Linked DNA regions of Homo sapiens: region 2 is linked to region 1. Evidence: promoter capture Hi-C in human tissues and cell types (Jung and others, 2019). All regions are on one chromosome and are shown on one strand. Each heading gives the region's core, a stretch centred on a gene start or on the middle of the fragment in contact. The rest is flanking DNA. Distances are from core to core; before and after follow the strand shown. Region 1 holds the start of TSKS (testis specific serine kinase substrate). Region 2 overlaps CPT1C (carnitine palmitoyltransferase 1C).

What was found. The method cuts DNA at HindIII sites, captures the fragments that hold promoters and counts their contacts. A contact is called where the count stands out against the background at its distance.
Region 2: a contact is called between a fragment that was not itself captured here and the fragment with the promoter of TSKS in region 1, in 1 of the 25 tissues and cell types used here (pancreas).

The regions. Positions count from the first base shown.
Region 1 is chr19:49,762,056-49,764,755 of GRCh38, reverse strand. TSKS (testis specific serine kinase substrate) reads left to right here and starts at 1,450. Exons shown (of 11, transcript NM_021733.2): 1 at 1,450-1,678; 2 at 2,524-2,700. The coding sequence starts at 1,509. It also overlaps the pseudogene RNU6-841P. RefSeq lists an enhancer at 2,697-2,700. The HindIII fragment of the contact is 39,317 bases long and covers 1-2,700 here.
Region 2 is chr19:49,703,330-49,706,029 of GRCh38, reverse strand. It overlaps CPT1C (carnitine palmitoyltransferase 1C), which reads right to left. Exons shown (of 20, transcript NM_001199753.2): 8 at 1,243-1,320; 9 at 916-1,023; 10 at 732-816; 11 at 1-121. Among named protein-coding and RNA genes, the nearest start is that of CPT1C, 14 kb to the right of the region's middle. The HindIII fragment of the contact is 9,065 bases long and covers 1-2,700 here.

The DNA of each region.
Region 1 (2,700 bases), core at 201-2,700:
CAGGAAGAAGTACTTTCTCCCTGGGGATAACAGCATTTAAAATGTCTATTAGCAGTGATGTTTGAACTAGTCTTTTTGAGAAGTGTGAAGAGAACAGGAAAAGTCTGTCCCTAAATAGCAGGGCAGTGCTCGCTTCGACAGCACATGTATTAACATTGGAACGATACAGAGAAGATTAGCATGGGCCCTGCGCAAAGACCACATGCAAATTTGTGACATGTTCCATATATTTTTTAAATACTTTGGGCGGGCGGGGCGCAGTGGCTCACACCTGTAATTCCAATGCTTTGGGAGGCTGAAGTGGGCAGATCACGAGGTCAGGAGTTGGAGACTAGCCTAGCCAACACAGTGAAACCCTGTCTCTACTAAAAATACAAAAAAAAAATTAGATGGGTGTGGTGGCAGGTACCTGTAGTCCCAGCTACTCAGGAGGCTGAGGCAGGAGAATCGCTTGAAACTGGGAGGTAGAGGTTGCAATGAGCCAAGATCACGCCACTGCACTCCAGCCTGGGTGTCAGAGCGAGACTCCATCTAAAAAAAAAAAAAAAAAATTATAGCGGAGCATGGTGGCTCATGTCTGTAATCCCACACTTTGGGAGGCTAAGGCGGGTGGACCATTTGAGGTCGGGAGTTTGAGACCAACTTGGCCAACATGGTGAAACCCGTCTCTACTAAAAATACAAAAATTAGCCGGACATTGTGGCCAGCGCCTGTAGTCCCAGCTACTGGGGAGGCTGAGGCAGGAGAATCGGTTGAACCCCGGGAGGTGGAGGTTGCAATGAGCTGAGATCGCGCCACTGAACTCCAGCCTCCATGACAGAGAGAGACTCTGTCTCAAAAAAAATAAAAAGTATTAAAGAAAATAATAAATAAATAAACGGGGGAGGGGGATACCACCCTCTGTCCTGCCCCAACTCTCTACCTTCCTCTCCTCCCTCACCTTCTACCCTGACCCCGAGGCCCACCGCACCTAGCTTTCTTTTGTTGATCTACCTGTATATTGCCTTTCCCCCGACCCCGACGCCCCATAGAATATGAGACCCTCCAGGTCAGGGTCTGGATCTCAGCCCTCTTCGACCACAGTCTCTCAAACCCCAGCCAATTGTCAAATCCAGGAAGCTACATGAAGAATCAAGAACAAGTGCACAGGGCTGTGTGACCCCACGCTTAGTCTCAGGGAGAGGGAAGTTGGACCTCTCCCAAGAATCCGTGGGCCGACCCATTGTTAAGTTACAGGCTAGCATGAATCCATCCACTGGAGCTCTGAAGACGGGGGGCACATTGGGCATGTAACTAGAATCCTGAACAGGAGGAGTCCACTGAGAACCCTAGGGGAATGACCTGGGCCAGCATCTCTCCCTACCCTGTGCCCCCCACTCACTGGGGCCCAGTGGTTGGGTCCTTTGTGAGGCAGGCTGAGGGGACAGTGGATCCTGAGGGTCTGTGGTCACAGTAGGTAGGAAGTCTCAGAGGAAGGAGCCCCTCCCTGGGAGCCAGACCCCCACACCATGGCGAGCGTGGTGGTGAAGACGATCTGGCAGTCCAAAGAGATCCATGAGGCCGGGGACACCCCCACGGGGGTGGAGAGCTGCTCCCAGCTAGTCCCAGAGGCTCCCCGGAGGGTGACCAGCCGGGCCAAGGGGATCCCGAAGAAAAAGAAGGCCGTGTCGTTCCACGGGTGGGTTTGTTGCACACTGTCAGGGATGGTTCTAATGCCCAGCACTACCTCCAACAGAGCAGGAGTCCGACTGTGGGTGCTAGAGGAAGGGGAGGGGGAAAAGCCAGCAGGTCGGGGGCAGGAAAGAGGGCAGCAGTGAAGAGACATCAAGTCACAGGGAGGTAGAGAGGAAGAAGGTAATGGGGATGGATGGAGGGAGGAAGAAGGTAATGGGGATGGATGGAGAGAGGAAAAAGCCAGTGGGGAGGGAAGAAGGAGAAGGGAGGCTAGTGAATGAAGAAGAAAGTAGGTGGCAGAGAAGGGAGGAGAAAGTAGGCAGCGGGGAAGGAGAAGAAGAAAGTAGACAGTGGTGGTCGGGCACGGTGGCTCACGCCTGTAATCCCAGCACTTTGGGAGGCCGAGGCAGGTGGATCATGAGGTCAGGAGTTCAAAACCAGCTTGGCCAACATGGTGAAAAGCCATCTCTACTAAAAATACTAAAATTAGCTGGGCGTGATGGCACATGCCTATAACCCCAGCTACTCAGGAGGCTGAGGCAGGAGAATTGCTTGAACTGGGACCCGCAGTCGGAGGTTGCAGTGAGCTGAGATCGCGCCACTGCACTCCAGCCTGGGCAACAGAGTGAGACTCTGTCTCAAAAAAAAAAAAAAAAGAAAGAAAGAAAAAAGAAAGAAAGTAGGCAGCACAGGGAAGGAGAATAAAGTAGGCAGCGGGGACAGAGAAGGGAGAAACTTATATACAGTGAGGGTGGAGTCACAGGGGGTGAGGTATGGAGAAAGGAAGGCAGGAGGGCCCAGACACCCTGGGGCTGCTTCTCCACTTTTCTGCCTGTTTCTTCTCTGCAGGGTGGAGCCCCAGATGTCCCATCAGCCCATGCACTGGTGCCTGAACCTCAAACGGTCCTCGGCCTGCACCAACGTGTCACTGCTCAACCTGGCCGCCATGGAGCCCACTGACTCCACGGGGACAGACTCCACAGTGGAAGACCTCAGCGGCCAACTCACACTGGCTGGGCCCCCTGC
Region 2 (2,700 bases), core at 184-2,683, 59 kb after region 1:
AACTGCTGCTCCAGGGCTCTCGGGGAAAGCAGGCTGTTTCGGGAGTGGGTCCCCATGCGGAAGAATCGGCCCCGGTGGAAGACAGCCACGTGTTGGCTGTCATGGAGGTGGCGGATGTAGTCTAGGGGTGGCGTTGGCAGAAGCATGGGGGCAGGAAGGCCAGACACATAAAAATAGTGACCATTTATTATATACTTCTTAGGTGTCGTCAGTTGTTCAAAGTACCCTAGTAATCATCAGCACCCTAGGACTTTTATTTACTTAGTATTTGGAGACAAGGTCTCGCTCTGTCGCCAGGCTGGAGTGCAGTGGTGAGATCTCAGCTCACTGCAGCCTCAACCTCCGGGGCTCAGGTGATCCTTCCACTTCAGGCTCCCGATTAACTGGGGCCACAGGTGCATATCACCATGCCTGGCTAATTTTTAAATTTTGTATATAGACCGGATCTCACTACGTTGCCCTAGGCTGGTCTCGAACTCCTGGCCTAAGCAATTGTCCACCTCGGCCCCACAAAGTGCTGGGATTACAGGCATCAGTCACTGCGCCCAGCCCCTAGGTACAATTATTATCCCACTTTAGTGGAAGCTGAGGCTCAGAGAGGGTAATAACGTGCAGAAGGTCACACAGCAAGGAAGCAATGGTTCCCAGCTCAGTCAGGCGGACTCCAGAAAACATGCTCTTAGCCACTATATTGTTCTGCCTCCATCAGTGGGGACAGGAGAGGGTCTCACCTTTTTGGACCCCTGGAATCCGCGTGGTGTTGAAGATCTTCTCGTACTGGGCAGAGCATAAGGGGCGCATTCCCATCAGCAAAGTCTGCAGGAAACCGTGGGCTGTGAGCTGCCTTCCAGGACCCACGTGGCCCAAAGGCCACAGGACCACACCTCCATCCCTAACCCACTGGGGCCCTCTCACCGGGGGTATCTCCTGGCGGTTCAGGCGGTGGCGGTACAGGAGGAGGGCATGGACGGCATTCCCAGCGCGAGCTGCCTGCAGAGGCGTGGGTGTGACATACAGGAAGTCCTGGGGACCAGGAGAGGGGATGGCAAAACACCCAGGGTCAGGTTTGCCCCCGATGGAGCCACTGACCCAAATACAGGTCCTGACCCCAAAAGAGGGTGGAATGATGAATCCCAGATGGCGCGTCTAGATCCAGGTCACTGAGCATGACCGTCACATTCCGCCCAGGTACCCCCCAACCCTAGACCTGGGGCCTATGAACCTCACCCCTCCCCTTCTCACCATCATGTAATAGTTGCTGTTCACCATCAGCGGATTTCGGGAGCGCAGGTACACAAATTCCTCCCACCAGTCACTGACCTGGGAGCGGGGTGGGGAGACACACAGTGAGGGGCTGGGGCCTGTTGGGGGAGGGACAGTAGGACAGGGAAGGCCCCAGATGCTCCTGCGTCAGGCAGGGAGGATAGAGCCAAAGAAGTCAGCCATCGTAGTCAGTAACTAGCGATCACCTAGAAATCCATCCATGGGGGATCAGTTAGCTAAACCCTGTTATACTCCGGCAGTGGAATATTACATAGCTGGTGGAAATAACAAGGTACAGCTGGGCACGGTGGCTCCCGCCTGTAATCCCAGCACTTTGGGAGGCTAAGCGGGTGGATCACCTGAGGTCAGGTGTTCAAGACCAGCCTGGCCAACATGATGAAACCCTGTCTCTACTAAAAATACAAACATTAGCCACACGTGGTGGTGCACGCCTGTAATCCCGGCTACTCGGTAGCCTGAGGCAGGAGAATCGCTTGAGTCGGGGAGGCAGAGGTTGCAAGGAGCTGAGATCGCACCATTGCACTCCAGCCTGGGCAACAAGAGTGAAACTCCGTCCCCCCCAAAAAAGAAAAACAGAACATAAATGTAAAATTTATAAAACAATAAATATGTGAAATAATATACATATGTGTAAATACATGAAAATTGTGGCCTTGCCAATACCATGATAAAATTCAAACAATGAAAAACACAAAAGAAAGCACTGTGTCACGGTTTAGCTGCTCTTGTAGGGTTTTTTGTTGTTGTTGTTGTACATAAAAAAATGGTGCGTGTGTCACTGGCAGTTGGCTTGGAGGTACAATAAAATATACAGGCTGGGCGCAGTGGCTCACACCTCTTATCTCAGCATTTTGGGAGGCTGAGGTGGGAGGATAGCTTGAGCCTCGGAGTTTGAGACCAGTCTGTGCAACATAGCAAGACCCCATGTCTACAAAAAATTTAAAAATTAGCCAGGCTTAGGGGCACATGCCTGTAGTCCCAGCTACTCAGGAGGCTGAGATGGGAGGATGGCTTGAGTCTGGGAGGTCAAGGCTGCAGTGAGCTTTGATCACGCCACTGCACTACAGCCTGGGTGACAGAGTGAGACCCCTTCCAAGAAAGAAAAAGGAAAGAGAGAGAAAGAGAGAAGGAAGGAAGGAAGGAAGGAAGGGAGGGAGGGAGGGAGGGAGGGAGGGAGGGAGGAGAGAGAGACAGAAAGGGAGGGAGGGGGAGAGAGAGAAAGATAGAGAAAGAAAGAAAGAAAGAGGCCGGGCATGGTGGCTCACGCCTGTAAATCCCAACACTTTGGGAGGCCGAGGCAGGCGGATCACGAGGTCAGGAGGTCGAGACCATCCTGGCTAACACGGTGAAACCCCATCTCTACTAAAAATACAAAAATACAAAAAAAAAAAAAAAGAAATTAGCCAGGTATGGGAG